3 separate regions of the Homo sapiens genome follow, and regions 1 and 2 are each linked to region 3. The links are contacts of gene promoters, found by promoter capture Hi-C in blood cells and fetal thymus (Javierre and others, 2016). All regions are on one chromosome and are shown on one strand. The core of a region is centred on a gene start or on the middle of the fragment in contact, and the rest is flanking DNA. Distances in the headings are between cores, read along the strand shown. Region 1 overlaps LOC124901002 (a long non-coding RNA gene). Region 2 overlaps LOC124901002 (a long non-coding RNA gene). Region 3 holds the start of LINC01386 (long intergenic non-protein coding RNA 1386).

What was found. The method cuts DNA at HindIII sites, captures the fragments that hold promoters and counts their contacts. A CHiCAGO score of 5 or more calls a contact.
Region 1: a contact is called between a fragment that was not itself captured here and the fragment with the promoter of LINC01386 in region 3, in 1 of 17 cell types (endothelial precursors). The highest score is 5.8, in endothelial precursors.
Region 2: a fragment that was not itself captured here is called in contact with the fragment with the promoter of LINC01386 in region 3 in 1 of 17 cell types (endothelial precursors); the score reaches 5.7 in endothelial precursors.

Annotation. Positions count from the first base shown.
Region 1 is chr5:73,249,803-73,253,615 of GRCh38, forward strand. The region is part of intron 1 of LOC124901002 (a long non-coding RNA gene); the gene reads left to right. All of the region lies in intron 1 of LOC105379031 (a long non-coding RNA gene), which reads right to left. Among named protein-coding and RNA genes, the nearest start is that of TMEM174, 79 kb to the left of the region's middle. The HindIII fragment of the contact is 2,238 bases long and covers 499-2,736 here.
Region 2 is chr5:73,224,701-73,228,610 of GRCh38, forward strand. All of the region lies in intron 1 of LOC124901002 (a long non-coding RNA gene), which reads left to right. Among named protein-coding and RNA genes, the nearest start is that of TMEM174, 53 kb to the left of the region's middle. The HindIII fragment of the contact is 2,452 bases long and covers 1,385-3,836 here.
Region 3 is chr5:73,471,101-73,474,873 of GRCh38, forward strand. It overlaps LINC01386 (long intergenic non-protein coding RNA 1386), which reads right to left and starts at 1,866. Exons shown (of 5, transcript NR_126410.1): 1 at 1,773-1,866; 2 at 785-847. The HindIII fragment of the contact is 6,957 bases long and covers 1,727-3,773 here.

The DNA.
Region 1 (3,813 bases), core at 368-2,867, 220 kb before region 3:
TTCCAGGAGCATTGGGTTACTAGTAGGATCTGTTTCAAGATGGTAGAATGGCTATTGATGGTGAGATTCCAGGACTTGATTAGTGATGAGAGTGCCATTTGCTGTTCAGGACATTCCATCACCGTTCATGCTCATGGAAGTGCATGAGAACCGGGTTTCACTTTGGGTCAGGCAAACTATATTAACATTGTAACTTCTAGTCTTCCAGACAAACTATCCACCTCAGTAATGTTTTATTTTTCTTGTGGGTGTATCGTTAAGGGAGCAGAAATTATGATATCCCTAAACTTTGTATCTTAATTGAACTCTGTGGTATCTTTATGATTTAATTTAATAGGTGACTTCAGCCATTCTTTTCCAAGGCAATTTTTAAGAAGCAGACTTATAGAAACTCTGGACTACAATTCATCATTAGAGTTTTGGTTAACTCTACAAAACTGTATGATCTACATGCATACTGAACAAACGCATATAACATGCAATATATTTCACTTAAAAAGCTTAAACATAAGAATCACTTAGAATTCATGTCATATTTAAGGCACATGAAATGCTACTTGATCTGTTCCATTTGAGTCATTCAGGGAGTTTAAAGCTATTTTAGGATAAATAATCTTAAAGAAGCTCTAGAAGGTTTGAATGGGATTTGCTTAAATAACAGAGAATATTATATTGCTTTAGTAAACTTTAGTTACTATTTTTAACTAAGACTTCATTGGTCTTATTAAGGTCTGGGTAATATTAGAAACTGTTGTTAAATGATGGTAATGCTATTTTGACTCTCTCCCTCTCACATCATTGAGGCTCTTTAAACTGTACAACTAGCGGTGGGGTAGTGCAAAAGTTACATTCAAGGGAATTTTGTTTTATTTGGTCTACTTCCCTTAACTTCCCTGTCCCCAGTCCCAGCTGCCTCTTTTACTCAGAGATCTGGCCTGAGATGATTGGACCAAGAACAAACACCTGCCCCAGGGGGGAGCCCATTTATAGACCAGCTGAGCTAATCTTCCTCCCCAGAGCATTTATGTTTGGAGAAAGAGAGACTGAGTCAGCCGGCTGATGGATGGTGATGGACCAAATAAAGGTCATACAGAGTCAGGGTTGGAGTCAGTCCATAAGCAAGTTGAAGTCATGAGGGGTAGACCACGGGAAGCAGGAGAAACTGCTCTGTGCAGAGAAATGGGAGAACAGAGAAAGAGCCCCAGTTCAGGTCCCTGTAGCCAGATGTCACTGGCTTTCTGGCCCTGGATGCCTGTGAGATTGCTTGTTATCCATTGTATTCAGCTCTCTAGGTGGGTTTCTCTCACTTACAACCCAAGTGATTCCAGACTAAGACAACTCCATACACCAAATGGCAAATACAGGCTACCAAATAGTTCCCCACCTCTTCGGTATCACTACCAAGTCACCCAGACTTCAGAGGTCTATGGGGCAACATAGGGATACATGGAGGAATAGGCAGGATGGAGGAAATGAGTATACAGCACACTTTTCCTTATGTTTTATGGTTTATAAATGCCCAACTCGCAATTTGTCATTTTCTGTTAGCATTTTCCATGTGTCTCTTTCACCTGCAATCTTGTGGGCCAATCAGTACGTTCTGCCCAGATCAGGGTTCAACGTCCTCAACATGCCACTGCCAAGTCATGGGCCCAAGTCTTGAATGTCACACTCCAGCAGGGCAGTCTCCTCCTCTGCTTTAGACAAGTGATGCCTGAAATAGAGTTTTATTTATTCGATACATATTTACTGGCTGCCTGCTATGGCTAGATACTGTGCAAGGTGCCAGGGATACGGCAATGAGCTAATGGCATATCTCTTACTTGCATGGACTTATATTGGTGGGAAGGGAGTACACTCACAAATGGACACTATGAAAAGTATAAGCAGGACAGTTTGTGATGGTAGGGGTCAATGAGAATCCTACTTAGATGGGTTGGTCAAGAAAGGCCTCTCGAGGATGAGAAAGAGCCAATCATGAACAAATTTAAAAATAGAAGAAATGACATGCACAAAGACCCTTTCACAGGAAGGAGCTTGGAGACACCAAGAGATTGAGAGAAGTGAGAGAAGGCAGAGTGGTTGGCACATGTGGTCTCTCCGATACACACCCCTTTGGTGCCTGCGGTCCCATACAATTTTCCTCTTTGCCTGAGGTATTAGTCTTATCTGGATATTTGTCCCCATGTCTGTTGGTTGGACCTGCATGATCTCTCTCCTGTTCCACCTCTCCTCTCCTGTCCTGCGGCTGCTGGTCTGCTCAGGCTTCCTACTCACTCACCTGGTCTATTGCAACTGCCTTCTAACTATGTGGGCAGTGACTTTGTCCTGTTCGCTCTTGCAGCTCAGCATCAACTGTCTGTCATTAGTAGGTGCCTAAAAAGTATTTGCTGAATGAATGAATGAATGAAATGTCTGGTCCAGTCTTCACCCCTGTGTCCCGCATCTCCATTCTGCATCCCTGTCTTGCATGCTACTGTCAGGATTATTGCTCTAAGTTAGAGATCCAATTGTCTCACTTACCAACCTTCTGGTGGTTGGCCCCCATTGTCACATGACTAAAACCCTCCATATTGCCTTCATAGGTCTTCAGAATTTGATCCCAATCTGCCTTTAAGGCTCATTTCGCAAACACTAAACACAGCCACTCTGAAATACTGTCTGTTGGTGACACCATGAACTCCCTCTGCTTGCAGTTTGTTCCCCCTACAGGGTTTGTCCACCTGCCATTCTTCAAGCTTCAGCTCAAAAGTCACCTGCCTTTCATGTCCCTAGTTCCACTTTTTCCCACTGGAGACAACTCACCATCTCTACTAAGCTCAGAACAGTTTGTTCCTATTGCTCCTACAGCCTGGATTAGACATGAGTTTGCATTGGTCTTTCTCTCCCGAGAGATGGCAAACTCTCTCAGGGCCCAGGAGCTGCATCTTACTCATCTTCGTGACCCCAGTTCTTAACACAGAGGCATGTGTGAAATTAATAATGACAGCAAAAAATCTACCGAGTGCTCGCAACATGCCAGCCTATTTTACACAATTAGCTCTCTAATCCTCAAAATAATCTTAGGAGGCAGGTCATATTGTGGTTCCTATTTTAGAACTGAGGAAACTGAGGCTTAGAAAAGTTAGAGAAATTGCCTGGAGTTGCACAGGTAGCAAGCAATAGCAGAGCCGGATTTAAACACAGATAGTCTGACTGCAAAGCCCACAAGGGGAACATGACAAAGTGCTGTATGCCACAGTGGCCCCTGACTGCTTCTTAGAATCACCTGAGGAACTCTGAAAACTCATCCATGTCCCAGCTCCATCCCACAACAACAACAACTGAACTACTGGACTATGAAAGCACTAAACTGGGGCATAGACAAGTTTGAACCCTGACCATAAGTATGACCTGGAGCATTTGTTAAAGGTGTAGATCACCACACCTCTCTTCCAGATAATGCTGTTTCAGCGGATTATGGTTGAAGCTTGGCAACTTGTGGTTGACAAGGTACCCCAGGTAATTCATATCTTAAGGGAAGTTAGGGAAATAAAGCTAGAGAGTAGGTTGCAAAGTCATTTAAGTAGGTCTCTAAACATTCATCTGTCTATGATGGTAGAAAGACCCTGTGGAGGATGTTTGACTGTTTCATCATGGGGCTGAGCTGAAGAAGATGAGTAACACAGTAAATTGGCATGGCTCTTTGGGAACACTAAGCTGAAATAGCTAATAGCACTGCACAAGTATACATCTTCAAAACCGTCCACTGATAGTGCTGCAACCAAAAAACAGTATTTTGATGGTACTTCTTTGCCTTGAGCATTCTATATA
Region 2 (3,910 bases), core at 1,361-3,860, 250 kb before region 3:
TAAATACCGAGCACTGGAGACTCAAATCAGCTTTCTGGTCAACAATGGAAACTGATATGTTTAGCTATTGAAAACTTAAGAGAATTTGTCACTGTACTAGAAAAATACAATCTGATAGAAAAGATAGCATTCTAAAATATTTTTCTAATGATCACCTTGGCTTTCTGTGGTTCTGCAAATACAAATAAATAGAGAGCTAAGTCTTTCATTTCTTCCCAACTTCAAATTTAGCTACAAACACTCTTAAATGAAAACACAGTTTTCTGGAGTTCTGAGATGTCAGGAGTGGTAACGAACAGAGATGCAAGAACTTCCAGGAAGGTCTGTGGAGAGCTGCAGAAGATTTAGGGAGCCGTTTGGGGTGTGCTGGAGAATGCTCCTTAGTCTTAGATGGTTTCCTCCTCCCCATGACCTTCTCACCACTCTTTGCTAAAAGACTATTTTAGAGAAGTGGAGCTACTAACATTGGGTTCATTATTAAAAGAAAACACCAAACCAGCTATTACCAATTCTGCTGTTACTCCTTGGTTTCAAGTGAATGCTGAAGTAAGCAGTTGTTGGATCACAAAATGTTAACACTGCAAGGGACGCTTAAAAGTTGCCTCTCTGGGTAAAATTTTTAGCTGACTATGGGCTACCCTGGGACTAGGATAACTCTTGACTCTCAGTCCACAACTGTTTAATATGTAAATATCAGAAATTGGTTTAGCCAAGGGATTATAGATTAGAACATATTTTGTTAGATTTATACCTAAATATTTCATGTTTTTAAATAACATACATTTGAGTCCAGCTCCTTAGAATCCCAAATTAAATCTGGATCAGTGTTGTCCCATCTGAGTCACAGAGACAGACCAGTGCTGTCCAGTAGAAATATAATGGGAGCCACACATGTAATCAAAATGTTCCAGTAGCCATATCTTAAAAAGTGTAAAGAAACTGGTGAAATTAATTTTTGTAATAGTGAATTTATTATTTATTGTGCATAACAAATTGTCCCAAAATTGTAGCTTAAAACACACATTTAATATTTTACCATTGTGTTGGGTCAGCAATGCACGATGGCTTTGAGATAGAAAGAGAGATAGAGGTGGCGCAAGCTAATGAGTGAGAGAGGGAGCACCCAAGATAGAAGCCGCAGTCTTTTTGTAATCTCAGCTTGGAAGCTGCAGCCCATCACTTCTGTCATAGTCATTTGTTAGTATTGAAATACTAAGCCTAGCCTAGAGCCTAGGGGAGGGAATTACATATGGGCATGACTACTGGGAGGCTGAGCTCAGCAGGGGCCATCTTAGAGGCTACCTACCACAAATATGTGTGTACATACATTAATGTCTATTTATATACATTTAACAAAATTTTAGACAGAGGTGATACATGTGCAAGCTTGTTACATGGGTATATTGCATAATGCTGAAGTGTTTTGGCTTCTAGTGAACCATCACCAAAATAGTAAACTACCCAATAGGTAGTTCTTCAGCCTTCATCCCCCCACACCTTTAGAGTCCCCAGTGTCTATTACTTCCATTTTTAGATCCATGCATACTCATTGCTTAACTTCCACTTATGAATGAGAACATGTGGTATTTGATTTTCTGATTCTGAGTTGTTTCACTTAGGATAATTGTCTCCAACTCCCTCCATGTTGCTGTGAAGAACATGATTTCATTGTTTTTTATGGCTGCATGGTATTCTGTGGTGTTTAAGTACCACATTTTCTTTATCCGGTCAACTGTTGGTAGACACTTAGGTTGATTCCATGACTTTGCTCTCGTGAATAATGCTGCAATAACATACAAGTGCAGGTGTCACTTTCGTATAACAATTTCTTTTCCTTTGGGTAGATACACAGTAATAAGATTGCTGGGTTGAATGGTAGCTCTACTTTTAGTTCTTTGAGAAGTCTCCACACTATTTTCCATAGAGGTTTTATTGATTTACATGCCCACCAACAGTGTATAAGTGTTCACTTTTCTCTGCAGCCTTGCCAGCCAACATCTGTTAGTTTTTGATTTTTTAATAATAGTCATTCTGACTGATATGAGGTGGTATTTCACTGTGGTTTTAATTTGTATTTCTCTGATGATTAATGATGTTGAGTATTTTTTCATATGTTTGCTGGCTGCTTGTATGTCTTCTTTTGAAAAGTGTCTTTTCATGTCCTTTGCTTATTTTGTAATAGGGTTATTTTTTTCTTGTTGATTCATTTTAGTTCCTTATAGATTCTAGATATTCATCCTTTGTTAGATGCATAATTTGGAAATACATTCTCCCATTCTATAGGTTGTCTGTTGATTGATTCTTTTGCTGTGCAGAAGCTGTTTAGTTTAATTTAGTCCCATTTGTCTATTTTTGTTTCTGTTGCATTTGCTTTTGAGGTCTTACCAATAAAATATTTGCCTAAGCCAATGTCCAGAAGAGTTTTTCCAGGTTTTTAATAGGATTTTTATAGTTTGATGTCTTACATTTAAGTCTCTAATTTATCTTCAGTTAATTTTTGTATATGGTGAGAGATAGGGGTCCAGTTTCATTCTTCAGCATACTCCCAGCCATTATTTATTGAATAGTGTGTCCTTTCCCCCATTGTTTATTTTTTGTTGGCTTCCACAAACATATTTTATCTAACCCAATATACCCAAAGTATCATTCAATATATAACTAATATAAAATTATTAATGAGACTTTTGCATTCCGATTTTATAATCTCCTTGCTGTGGACTGAATGCTTGCACTGCCCCCAAAATTACTATGTTGAAGCCCTAATCCCCAATGTCATGATATTAGAAAGTGAAACCTTTGGATGGTAACTAGGTTTAGATGAAGTCAGAAGGATGGAGTTCCCATAATAGGATTAATGCCCTTACAAGAAAAGGAAGAGACATGATATATCTCTCCCTCCTTGAGCCCACCCCCACACCACCCCTCTTGCAAGCACCAGGGAAAGGCCATGTGGGGATGTAAACAGGAAGAGGGTCCTCAACAAGAACCCAACCATTCTGGCACCCTAATCTTGAACTTTCAGCTTCCAGAACTGTGAGAAATCAATGTTGCTGAAGCAACCCAGTCTGTGGTAATTTGTTATAGCAGCCTAGACTTACTAAGACAACCTACAAAGTCCAGAATGTATTTTACACTTACGGCCTGCATCAATTTGGACTAGATACATTTCAAGCATCAATTGCCACCTGTGGCTAGAGGCCACTGTAGTACAGAACACATCTAGATGGTCTGAAGCCATCTGAAGATCCAAAGACCCTAACTAAGTGGTCTTCTTCACCAGCAACCTAAATGATTGATGTGATTTATCAGACATATCAAGTGCTTACCATGTACCAGACATAGTGCTGAATGTAAGGAACCTCAAGCTAATAAATAATAGTGCCTGCCCTAAAGGAACTCAGACAAGTAAGAGGTTAACTTCGGATTCTAGACCAGCCATGCAGGGCCTACCTCAGAGAGCTCTACACTGTGATGGGTTCTTGCGTAAGGCAAAGCTCAGTCCCTCCATGGTCCGTGGGAAGGTGGGTGACCCAAGTCTGCCTGGCCCAGCCAGAGTCTCTGACAATGACCATACACATCATTTACTCCCAGGCCTAACCTGAGGCCTGGGCCTCGGGCCCTGAACTGGAGCCCATATGTTGGCCTGAAATCTGATTTACCTTGGACGTGGAACAAGTTAAATATTTGTCTAACTCAGTACGTTGTATTTTCCGCTATTCTTCACAAGCATGTCCTGTAAAAGAAGGGAGATGTGGGGGCTACCTTAATATTTCAGGCTCCTTGGGTGCTTTAGAGGGGTTTCTGCAGAAGTATCGGTACATGCCACAGTTGCACAAAGCTTCAAACATATGTGACTAAATTTATGTGGAAAAAAATGTCCTTAATTATCTTACCAGCTATGAATGAATTT
Region 3 (3,773 bases), core at 616-3,115:
TGTTTTCCTTTCTCTTCTTTTTTCTTTTCTCTTCTTTTTGAAAGAGGATCTCACTCTGTCACCCAGGCTGGAGTGTAGTGACATGATCATGGCTCACTGCAGCCTCAACCTCCTTGGGCTCAGGTGATCCTCCCGCCTCAGCCTCCTGAGTTGCTGGGATTACATGTACATGCTACCATGCTCGGCTAATTTTTGTATTTTTTGGTAGAGGTGGGGTGTCGCCATATTGCCCAGGCTGGCCTCCAACTCCTAGGCTCAAGGATCTGCCCATCTCAGCCTATCAAAGTGTTAGTATTACAGGCTTGAGCCACAGCAGCTGGCCCTTAGTAACTTCTGAACAGAATTTCTCTCCTCTTTGGGCCAGTGAAGAAGAGAATTCAGACTCAGCATTCCGCCTCCCCAGACATACCTTTTAAAAACACACACACATCCTTAAGGTTTTTTTTTTAGCTTCTAAGGGTCTGTATTGCCAGTAACAACAGAGAAGGGGGCAGGGACTGAAAAGGCAAAAAGGCTCCACCCAGCACTCCCCTCTTTTGCTATTTCATTTAGATATTACAGAGAAGGAAGGAAGACATTTTCCCCACCCCTGAGTTTTCTTTGGGACTATCTGGGACAGAAGATCTCTCTGCAGCTCTTGTAGACCTGAGCATTTCATTTCTAGAGCTGAGATGTCAGGAGAGGAGTCTGGGATAAATGTGAGGAAATGGGATGAATGTTGCCAAGACTAATATTAGGGGTGGGTGGGGACTGAGAACAGCTGTAAGGCAATGTTCTTCCCTACCTTAGCCTCCAGAGCTCATGCTGGACCAGCTGGAGGATGTGAAAATCCAGAGGAGGTGAGGATCTGGGCCAAAGAAAGGGCAAGAAAGAAGGGAGATCTCAAGTCAAGCAATTGGAAGGAAAGGGAGGTTCCCATAGTGGACTCTGGGGCAGGAGAGATGGAAGGGTTGGGCATTTGGGCTCTCACACGTGTGTGGGGGTGGGGAGTATGGGGGTGCAGTTAAGGGACCTAGGTAACTGAGCAAAATTGGGCCTGTAAGGCCAATTGCAAAGCTCGCTTCTGCATGTAATGTGTGTACCATCTGTCTCTCCATGCCACTAGGAGCACTAATAAATGTTACATGTAGAAACTTTTGCACTAGCTTGTACATTAAAATTCCATATGCCAATTGACTGGACTACATGAGCGCATCTGTCAAAAACAGGTCTCTTAGGCCCAATTTAGGACATTCCAAAGCAGCTTTATAACTGCTTCAGCCTCCAAATGGTATGAATTAACTCTCATAAGCCAAGTCAATTCTCACTGAGTAAAGGATTCGGCCAAATGTCCAAAAAATTCAAGTCAAAAACACTCTCTTCCCTTTATTATAGAGAATATCAGTAGTAAGATCTTTTTTCCCCCAAAATTGTGCTGCTCATTGACTCCGTGTTTGATGTCATACTGTTAACATAAGTTAATATGGTCAAAATGATAAAATGCTTTATTGTATTATGGGCATGAAAAAGACCATATTTTGCATTTTTACAAAATTCTGTTTTTCCAGTTATATTTACAATTTACAGTGTATGCTGATATATATTAAGTGGTTAAATCTCAGGTGCCAAGTGTATTTTATTTTGAAAAAGTAAATATGTATAACTCCCAAGACAACCTGTTTAGACCCATTCTCTCCCGGCAATGGAAGATGCATAAAGAAGAATATAATCCTCCCTTTTAAGGTAAAGCTTAGATTTACACTTCACATGCCCAAACTCAGCACATATGTTACCTCTAGGAACTGGAAATTTTGCTTCTTTTCCTCATACTGATTTTTTTGTTTCTGTTCTTATTAACTTTTATGAAAATATCTTTAGAAAAGCAAGTATAAATACATGAATGAATAAATATATTGGATGATAGAATCAGAATCTTTAAATATCTCAACATGACAGAATAATGGGGAGATTCTAATAATGAAATGTAACAAGTATGAATGCCAGTCACACCTATGTTCCAGGAACAATTCATCATAACAGCAGGATATGTAAGGAAAGGCTTAGGGATTTCAGTTCACTATGCATAGACCTTTTTTTTTTTCTTTTTGAGACAGGGTCTTGCTCTATTACCCAGGCTGGAGTGCAGTGGTGCAATCATGGCTCACTCCCAGCCTTGATCTCTCAAGCTCAAGCACTCTTCCCACCTCAGCCTCCCTAGTAGCTGGGACTACAGCCATGCACCACCAAATCTGGATAATTTTTAAATTTTTTGTAGAGAAGGGGTCTCACTGTGTTGCCCAGGTTGATCATGAACTCCTGGCTTCAAGTGATCCTCTGGCCTCAGCCTCCCAAAGTGCTAGGATTACAGGTGAGAGCCACCACACCTGGCCCACTACTAACAGACTTTAGAGAGCCATTCAGGCTACTCCTCACCCCATGCAATCTTAGACTGTGTTACTAGATAAATGCTGTCTAAAAAAGGGGAAGAGATAACCTTTTTCTCCACTTTGTGTCAGAATACTATATTCAAATCTGGACACCTCATTTCAACAACAGATTGCAGGGATCCAAACAAAGAAACCAGCTTGGTGATCAAAAGAGTGCCTGCCCCTCAAGGACTCCCAACTCAGTGGGGTTGGTATTGACATAGCAGATACACAAAATGTATTCTAGATTGGTACCAAAACTATGGTGAGTAGATGGCTGTGACTGGGGGACTTCTCAATTGATTGCTCAGTCCATTAGAGGTGGCCTTTTTGTGCCTATTGGCTGTTATCGGCTGCCTTGAGTATATTGTCTATATTTGATCCTCAGTATTTTTGTGTGTGACTTGAGCTTTGAGAATTAAATTAAAATGATATATATTTTACTATTTAATCCTACAAAAGTTATTCAACTATCAATAAATATGTCAAGTGCTGAAAAGAAAAAATATCAACAATATCGGAATAAATAATGACTGTCTAGTTATTTTCTCAGCTGGGCCTAGTGGCTCATGCCTGTAATCTCAACACTTTGGGAGGCCAAAGCACAAGGATTGCTTGAGGCCAGGAATTCAAGACCAGCATACGCAACATAGCGAGACCCCCAACTCTACAAAAAATAGAAAAATTGGCCAGGTGTGGTGGTTCAAGCCTGTATTCCTAGCTGCTTGGGAGGCTGAGGCAAGAAGATCACTTGAGCCCAGGAGTTTGAGGCTGTAGTGAGCTATGATTATACCACTACACTCGAGCTACTCTGCCTCTTAAAAAAAAAAAAGTTATTTTTTCATATGAAGCAAAAGTTAAACATTCATGTTTAGAAAATCAGTTATTTTCAACTGTTGCTTTTGCTAGAAAAGTACCAGTTTTGAATTTTTTTTTTTTTTTTTTTTTTTAGATGGAGTCTTTCCCTGTCACCCAGGCTGGAGTGCAGTGGCATGATCTCGGCTCACTGCAACCTCCCCCTCTGAGGTTCAAATGATTCTCCTGCCTCAGCCTCCCGAGTAGCTGGGACTACAGGTGCACGCCACCACACCCAGCTAGTTTTTGTATTTTTAGTAGAGATGGAGTTTCACCATGTTGGGCAGGATGGTCTCACCCTCTGACCTCGTGATCCACCTGCCTGATTTTTTTCTTTCTTTTTCTTTTTTTTTTTTTTTTTTGGGACAGAGTCTTGCTCTGTTGCCAGGCTAGAGTACAGTGGTGAGATCTTGGCTCACGGCAACCTCCAACTCCCAGGTTCAAGAGATTCTCCTGCCTCAGCCTCCCGAGTAGCTGGTACTACAGGTGCGTGCCACCACGCCCAGCTAATTT